2 separate regions of the Homo sapiens genome follow, and region 1 is linked to region 2. Evidence: promoter capture Hi-C in 16 types of primary human blood cells and fetal thymus (Javierre and others, 2016). All regions are on one chromosome and are shown on one strand. Each heading gives the region's core, a stretch centred on a gene start or on the middle of the fragment in contact. The rest is flanking DNA. Distances are from core to core; before and after follow the strand shown.

Evidence for each region. Contacts are between HindIII fragments. The CHiCAGO score rates a contact against its expected background, and 5 or more counts as called.
Region 1: the fragment with the promoter of MALINC1 here is called in contact with the fragment with the promoter of EGR1 in region 2 in 1 of 17 cell types (fetal thymus); the score reaches 6.0 in fetal thymus.

The regions. Positions count from the first base shown.
Region 1 is chr5:140,106,439-140,110,618 of GRCh38, forward strand. It overlaps MALINC1 (mitosis associated long intergenic non-coding RNA 1), which reads right to left and starts at 1,574. Exons shown (of 4, transcript NR_102741.1): 1 at 971-1,574; 2 at 1-52. LOC124900193 reads right to left here and starts at 2,831. Exons shown (of 4, transcript XM_047417990.1): 1 at 1,346-2,831; 2 at 1-23. The coding sequence starts at 2,547. The coding sequence ends at 1,621. RefSeq lists enhancers at 674-773, 1,884-2,385 and silencers at 1,304-1,373, 1,404-1,463, 1,474-1,733. The HindIII fragment of the contact is 3,432 bases long and covers 1-2,747 here.
Region 2 is chr5:138,462,826-138,467,072 of GRCh38, forward strand. EGR1 (early growth response 1) reads left to right here and starts at 2,654. Exons shown (of 2, transcript NM_001964.3): 1 at 2,654-3,243; 2 at 3,932-4,247. The coding sequence starts at 2,937. RefSeq lists silencers at 1,258-1,527, 1,848-2,247, 2,258-2,607, 2,698-2,907 and enhancers at 1,440-2,639, 1,712-2,552, 2,553-3,392. The HindIII fragment of the contact is 6,642 bases long and covers 243-4,247 here.

The sequences.
Region 1 (4,180 bases), core at 324-2,823, 1.6 Mb after region 2:
TCTTCTCAGCCATCAGGCACTGCCTACAATACGTAAGAGGCAGCAAAAGATACTTGGAAAAAAACAATTGAGAGATTTCTGGTTTAGTGAATAAAGCAGGCAATAATAGACCTTAGAGTTTTCCCTTTATCAGTGATAGACTCCTCACAATGCTGAACAACTGACTTACATTTTGATAACTAAATTTTCATCTGTAAAATGGGAGTAATTATACCTTAGTCCTACTTGCCTCGCAGGCTCAACTAGATATGCTTCTGGGAAAGATTCTCTAACAAGTGAGTTTAAAAGTCTACCACTGCCTAACAAAGAGGGATTTTGTGGTATATTTGCAAAGTAACTTCAAAACAAAATAGTTAAATAGGTTGAGGCAATGATTAAGTTTTCCTAAATCACAGTTTGACTTCTCGGAGGTCTATTTAAATAATGATAAAGATGATAAATGCAGTTTTTATTTTGCTGCAGTTATTAGCTGATCCACGTTCCATCTACGTATTCAGTGTTGCAGGATGGAGACGTGACAGCGTAGAAAGCGAGCAAAAGCGTTACCGTGCACCAAAAATCTTGTCAAACTTGATACGATTTCAAGAAGACTGTCTTAAAGGACATTTTATAATTTCACATTTAGCCCTTGCATAGCATTTTATGAAAATTAACTTTTACCCTTTCCCCCTCGGCCCAAGGAAGTCGCATTCCCTCAAAGGGGCCCGGCTTCAACATATTACACTGCGTGGGAGGCTGGGCAGCAACCCCACGCTTCCTGTCAAGGATTCCTGGGGCCAGAGCCTGAAAAGTGCTCTAGCCACTCTTCTCTATGCTAATTCTGTCCTTCCGACCCCTCTTGGCGGGTGTCTGAGGGCCAAGGTGAGACTTTCCCCGGAGATGAAAGGCCTATTGCCTCTTCAGAGACCCGGGCGGAGTTGGGGCGGGGGTGCCGCGTGATAGGGTGGTAGCAGAAGTCGCAACGACGCACAGGGCCCTAAGTTGGAGCTGGCGCAGGCCCTTCAGGGTTCTATCCCCGCCAGAGCCTGGCTTCGGCCTTCAGAAGCCAAACGAGTAATAGGTCCTTCTGGGGCGCTGTGGGCGGTGGGTGGAGGAAGTGTGGGCGGAGAGGCCACAGACATCCCCCTCCTCAGACGCGCCCCAAGGCCTGGCCCGCGGAATGTTGACGCGCCAGGAGCCGATAGGGCGCGCTCACGCGCGAGAAGGGGGCGGAAAGAGCGCGCTCGGCGGCCGCCGCGGCGGCAGCTAAAACGGAGGGACGCGAGAGCGAAGGGCGCGAGCCACGGAGTTGGGAGGAGGGGTGGGGAACGCGGAGCGCGCGCTGACGTCGCCTGGAGTCACGCACGGAGCGCCGGGTTACGCGCCGACGTCTGGCTGCCACGACTTGCCGTCTGCGGCGGCGGCGGCGGCGGCGAGCGGATCCCGCAGGGGAAGGAGGAGGAGGAGGGAGAGCCAAGGGGGCTGTGAGTGAGCGGGAGAAGCAGGGTGTGAGCCGGACTTGCCCATGGGAGGGAGAGCGAGCGAGAGCCGAGCCAGCCATCCGAGCCGCCTCCTCCTCCTCCCCTCGGCGTCCCGCCCCCGCCCGCCAGCCCGCCCTCCTTCCTCCTCAGCCCGCAGAGCCTAAGTGAGGCGCAGCTCGGCTAGCGCCGCTGTCCAGGACAGGTGTGCGCGCGCGCGCCCTCCTCCCCTCCCCCCTTCCTCGCGCCTGTCTCGCGCGCGCCCTCCCTCCCGCCAGCCTGCGCCCTCCCTCACCTGCGGCAGGACAGCGCCCGCCCGCCCGGGTAAGCCCCTCGCGACCTTCCCTGCTGCCACTGCCACAGCTCCAGGTGACGCTCGCCCCGTCCCCTTTACTTGCTCTCTCAGCCCAGGAATAATTATAGTACCATTGCAGACATCCCCGCACCCTCCCTCTTGGAGACCCAGGCGGTGCAGCAACGTTCTCTCCCACCCCCCGCAGCGAGAAACGAATGAACCCCCTCCTACTTTCAAAAGAGAACAAAATAACACGCCCCTTAAGAAAAGAGGCGATCCTACCTCCGCAGGCGCTGGAGACCACCAGTGATGCGTTTGCTTAGCAATCCCTGAGCCCCATTTCCCCTGGCCGCCTTCGCCCTGGGGCCTGGGACTGTGCGCTAGACGTGGCTGACACTCCCTGCACGGCAACCCTGGAAGGAGGGAGAGGAAGGAGAGTTCTATAACCCAGGCTTCACTGCCAACCCCTCCTCTGTTCGGTTCCCCCCACCCCACTACCACCAAATGCATACACCCGCCCAGGATGCGTTGTAAAAACAAAACAAAACCAGGAAAAAAAAAAAAAAAACCTTTGGTGCTGACATCGCAGATGAAGCCGGGCCCAAAGATGGGTGGCCCGAACAAGGCATTTTTACTGCCCCACAGCGCTGGGTCAGCTCCACAGCTCCTCTGCCTTTGTCCGAGGGCAAAAGGAACGGATGTGAAGCTGAGGGGTCTTCTCTGTGAGCGGCGGTGGGCCCCGGAGGCGGGCTGTGATGTTTGTAGGGGAAGGCACCCAACCAATATATCTGCCATAAACCTGAACTTGGGTTGGAGAGCCCCCAGAGACTGGCTGGGGTAACTGGTTCGTAGCTGTCTACCCCGGAATAAATGCCACCTTCTTTTCCGCGGTGTCTGCGGGACCCTCTGTTGGGGGTTCTAATTCGTTTTGGCCTGGGCTCCTTACATTTCTGTCCGGCCAGGCGCTTTTGGACAGCTTTTCGCAGCGGTGTCTAAGCTTGTGTTCGGTGTCCTTGGAAGGGAGGTCCCAGAGCTTTACAATAGGCTGGATTTGGTTTGACATCTTTTGGTGGACTGTCAAAGGGGAAAGGAAATTTTTGGATTACTTCAAGATCCCCCACCGCCCCCGCCCAACTGACGTTTGCGAATTGCGGCTTTGGAAATTGGAGTGTTGACTAGAGTGTGGAGAGAGAGTTGCTGATTTCATTGCTTTGAGTACTAGTAAAACCATTTAAGTATCAGCCGGAAGGGAGACAGCTATTGACATTTACATCGGTTCTGTTTGGACCTTTGGGGTACATAAAATGTCGGGTTCTCTGAATTTTTTATCGAATTTAGAATGTCTGCTACATTTATTTAACTTCTGCAAATGCTTAAAATGAAAACATTTTGGAAATGCGAGGATTTTTATCAAGTGGATTGTTCTCTTCATATATTAAATGTTTACTTCATATCTTTAATCCGAAACATTAAAATAGCATTGAAGAGGCATGATTTTCAAGATTAAGTGAGCTATGGAAAAGGAATACGCTTTTAAAGAACGATCTGGGAAATGCTGTTACTATTAGTCATTGTTGTTGTTAAATGTTAAGATTTATTTGAGAGTTTCTCAATTTTTTTGGTAGACAGTCATGAGAAGAAATGGCTAATTCCTCCACTTTGAACATTTACAGTACAACATCCCAGTTAGTTTTAATGATTTGGGTATTGAAGATAGTTGTCTGGTTTAAGACTGGTATTTAATCTAAGTATCACTTGAAAACACAAGCTCTAATGTTCTTTATTTTGGAAATTTGTGATTTTGTAAAATATTAATCAACATATTGTTTCTATTAGGAACTCTATAATCAGAAGGGTTTACTACCCAGAGGTAGACAACCTCTTTCCAAGTCTATTTTATAAATGTGTGTTGATTTTTACTTTATAAAACCAAAACTGAATTAGATTATTTCAGAATCACCTGTAGTCAGGCTGAAGAAAATTAAAGCTTTTTTCTTTTTTGTTCTGCCTAATGTGTATTTCTTTGCGCACAATTTTTTGTTGGTAAGAGTTTGTTAAATACATAGAGACAGTGGGATTAAAAATAAAGCAGTCTCTATTCTCTTTAAAATGTGTCTGTTGTATTAATAATAAAAGGGCTCAAGAAATCTAGAGACATTATGTCTTTGTAAGCATATTGTGAGGAGAAAGGAAATGTTTACTTTTTGATGTTTTTCATTAACATGGATTTTTGCTGCATATTAATTTGCTGTATATTTCGTTTTCCCTTTGTCTTTCCTACATTCTAATGAAATTATACATTTAGTTTTACAACTATTTGTTTTACATTAACAAATTCAAACAGCTGGATACTAGAACAGACTTCATTCACCAAGTTAGTATATTGTTTAGATTATTAACAAATGGTTAGAAGTCTTAAAATCCACTT
Region 2 (4,247 bases), core at 1,404-3,903:
CAGGAGTTCAAGATCAGGCTGGCCAACATGGTGAAACCTGGTCTCTACTAAAAATACAAAAATTAGCCATGTGTGGTGGGGTGCACCTGTGGTCCCAGCTACTAGGGAGGCTGAGGCAGGAAAATAGCTTGAACCCAGGAGGCGGAGGTCGCAGTGAGCCAAAATTGCCCCATTGCACTCCAGCCTGGGTGACACAGGGAGACTCTGTCTTAAAAAAAGCAAAAACAAACAAGTAAACAAAAAGCTTGGCTGGCTGGGTGCTGTGGCTCACACCTGGAATGCCAGCACTTTGGGAGGCCGAAGTGGGTGAATCGCTTGAGCTCAAGAGTTCAAGACCAGCCTGGGCAACACAGCGAAACCCCTCTCTACGAAAATACAAAAAAAAAAAAAAAAAAAAAAAGTAAAAGCCAGGCGTGGTGGCAGGCACCTGTAGTCCAAGCTACTCGAGAGGAGGAGGCTGGAGGATCACTTGAGCCTGGGAGGCGGAGGTTGCAGTGAGCTCGCGCCACTGCACTCCAACCTGGGTGCCAGCGTGAGACCCCGTCTCAGAAAGAATAAAAACATTAAAAAAAAAATTTGGCTAAGGTACCCTACCAGGGAGTGGCAAAATGGACATTCAGACACAAGGCCATCTGCGCTGCAACAGCCTGGCCTTCCTGCCCTTGCGGCAGGAGTCCTCTGAGAGGCGCATCACTCCTGCCCCAATGGACAACTCGGTAGACAGTGGGAGTGAGCCCCCCACCTCCCCAGCGGACTTGAGACGGCAGGCTCCGAGACGAGGGAGTCCTGGTTCATTAAGTTGGTTTTTATAAGAAAACATGTTTGGAGGGGGGACAGCCACAGAGGGATTAAGTCCAAGAAAGTTACACCCTCCCCCACCTAATCCCCCTGACCCCGACCTCCAGAGGCTGTTGGGGTTCACAGAGGCCCTCACCTCCTCCCTTCCCTCTCGGTGTCGTCAAGCACCCTCCTTCCCCACATTCTCTTTCTGCTTTCTTTTTAAATCCAGAAAAAACAGCACCTCCTCTGGATTCAGAGCTAGAGCAGGAGGAGCCTTCCCTTCCCGGAATCCCTGTTCCCTTTGGGGTGAGCAACTGACTGCGTCGTGGGGGCGGGGAGGGCTTCCCTGTTCGCGTTCGGCCCCAGGGAGACCTGCGGGAATCGTTCTCCCTCGCCACCACCCACCCCCTGCTTCCTTCTCCCCCTCGCCTTGGCCAGGCTCGGGGTGAGGAGTGTTATCCCGGAGTCTGGGCGCCTCGGCAGTGACGGCTCCCCAGGGACTGCAGGGGGAGCCCGGGCTGCAGCGCCTGCTCAGTTCGTGCTCACTGCGTCGAAGGCTCCCCCGGCCTGGCTCCGCGCCCAGCGCCGCATCCGGGAGGAGGAGCGAGGAGGCGGCGGAAGAGCCCGCGCGGCCGGAGTCCGGGGCTGGGAGTGGAGAGGGAACCTCCAGGGGGCAGCACCGAGCCGCCAAGCCGGTCCTCTCTTCGCGCCCAGCCCGGGGTCCCCAGACAGCCCATAGGGAAGCCCCTCTTTCGGATTCCCGCAGTGTGGGCCGGCCCTCCACCTGGACTGGATAAAGGGGGGAAAGTGACCCCTCACCACAAGGACCATTATCTCCTGGTGAGAACAAGAATCAGGCCTCTCTTGGGGCAATCAGCTTCCCCACTTCGGTCCCCCAAAGGTGGGCTCTTTGCCGGCGGGGACTAGGGAACAGCCTTTCGGTTCCGGGGGAGCACAGGGGACCCCAGGCACCAGCAGCCCCATCCCACCGACAGGTGGCAGAGGCAAGGCAGCTCACTGCTATACAGTGTCCCAAGAACCAAGTGGCCGTGACTTCCTATCCTCAATTTCCCAGCGACACCCGGAAAGACACCGTGCCATAGATCGAGGCCCGGGGTCAAGGCCCCGCCTCTCCTGGGCGGCCCCTGCCCAGGCGGGCCCAGCCGCTCCTCCCCCGCACTCCCGGTTCGCTCTCACGGTCCCTGAGGTGGGCGGGCGGGCCCTGGATGACAGCGATAGAACCCCGGCCCGACTCGCCCTCGCCCCCGCTCTGGGTCTGGGCTTCCCCAGCCTAGTTCACGCCTAGGAGCCGCCTGAGCAGCCGCGCGCCCAGCGCCACACGCCACGAGCCCTCCCCGCCTGGGCGTCCCCGGATCCCGCGAGCGCTCGGGCTCCCGGCTTGGAACCAGGGAGGAGGGAGGGAGCGAGGGAGCAACCAGCTGCGACCCGGAAATGCCATATAAGGAGCAGGAAGGATCCCCCGCCGGAACAACCCTTATTTGGGCAGCACCTTATTTGGAGTGGCCCGATATGGCCCGGCCGCTTCCGGCTCTGGGAGGAGGGAAGAAGGCGGAGGGAGGGGCAACGCGGGAACTCCGGAGCTGCGCGGGTCCCGGAGGCCCCGGCGGCGGCTAGAGCTCTAGGCTTCCCCGAAGCCTGGGCGCCTGGGATGCGGGCGCGGGCGCGGGCCCTAGGGTGCAGGATGGAGGTGCCGGGCGCTGTCGGATGGGGGGCTTCACGTCACTCCGGGTCCTCCCGGCCGGTCCTGCCATATTAGGGCTTCCTGCTTCCCATATATGGCCATGTACGTCACGACGGAGGCGGACCCGTGCCGTTCCAGACCCTTCAAATAGAGGCGGATCCGGGGAGTCGCGAGAGATCCCAGCGCGCAGAACTTGGGGAGCCGCCGCCGCCATCCGCCGCCGCAGCCAGCTTCCGCCGCCGCAGGACCGGCCCCTGCCCCAGCCTCCGCAGCCGCGGCGCGTCCACGCCCGCCCGCGCCCAGGGCGAGTCGGGGTCGCCGCCTGCACGCTTCTCAGTGTTCCCCGCGCCCCGCATGTAACCCGGCCAGGCCCCCGCAACTGTGTCCCCTGCAGCTCCAGCCCCGGGCTGCACCCCCCCGCCCCGACACCAGCTCTCCAGCCTGCTCGTCCAGGATGGCCGCGGCCAAGGCCGAGATGCAGCTGATGTCCCCGCTGCAGATCTCTGACCCGTTCGGATCCTTTCCTCACTCGCCCACCATGGACAACTACCCTAAGCTGGAGGAGATGATGCTGCTGAGCAACGGGGCTCCCCAGTTCCTCGGCGCCGCCGGGGCCCCAGAGGGCAGCGGCAGCAACAGCAGCAGCAGCAGCAGCGGGGGCGGTGGAGGCGGCGGGGGCGGCAGCAACAGCAGCAGCAGCAGCAGCACCTTCAACCCTCAGGCGGACACGGGCGAGCAGCCCTACGAGCACCTGACCGCAGGTAAGCAGTGGCCTACGCCGAGGGGGAACCCTTTCGCCACCATCCTGGCGTCCTGTCCTTCACCGCAGGAGTGCTCCTGGATCTTAGAATGAGAGCCGGGTTTCCCTTTCATTCCTCGCATCCCCAGAGTCATGTGTTAGAGGGATGCCAAGGAACCCCACACAGCCCACCCCCTGCCCTCATCCCTAGCGGAGCGCAGAGGACCGAGCTTTTGTTTTGGATGGAGAGCTCTGGAGCTGCGTGGGTGGGTGGAGGGGGAGGGCTTGTTTTGATGAGCGGGGCTGCGCCCCCCACCTCCAGTAAGACTTGCCTTGCCTTGCTTGCCGCCTGTCCCCAAGGAAGGACCGTGATCCTTGGCCGTGGATGTCCCGGCAGCCCGGGTTTGGGGGCGCGCACTAGCCGCGGCCATGGGGGTGCTGGCGGGAATCCCTCGCCCGCACAGCCGCCGCTGCGGAGCGCTGCGAGCTGCAGTGGAGGGGGATTCTCCGTATTTGCGTCAGCTGTTGTTGAAATGGGCTCTGCCACTGGTGCGGGTCCAGGAACATTGCAATGTGCTGCTATCAATTATTAACTACCTCGGGAGTCAATGGTAGCCGGCCCGGTCTCTTGCCTGGCAGCTCGGGTCGTCCTCGTCCTCCAGTGATTGCTTTCCAGTAACCAGGCCTCCCGCTTCTCTCTCTCCTGCCAGAGTCTTTTCCTGACATCTCTCTGAACAACGAGAAGGTGCTGGTGGAGACCAGTTACCCCAGCCAAACCACTCGACTGCCCCCCATCACCTATACTGGCCGCTTTTCCCTGGAGCCTGCACCCAACAGTGGCAACACCTTGTGGCCCGAGCCCCTCTTCAGCTTGGTCAGTGGCCTAGTGAGCATGACCAACCCACCGGCCTCCTCGTCCTCAGCACCATCTCCAGCGGCCTCCTCCGCCTCCGCCTCCCAGAGCCCACCCCTGAGCTGCGCAGTGCCATCCAACGACAGCAGTCCCATTTACTCAGCGGCACCCAC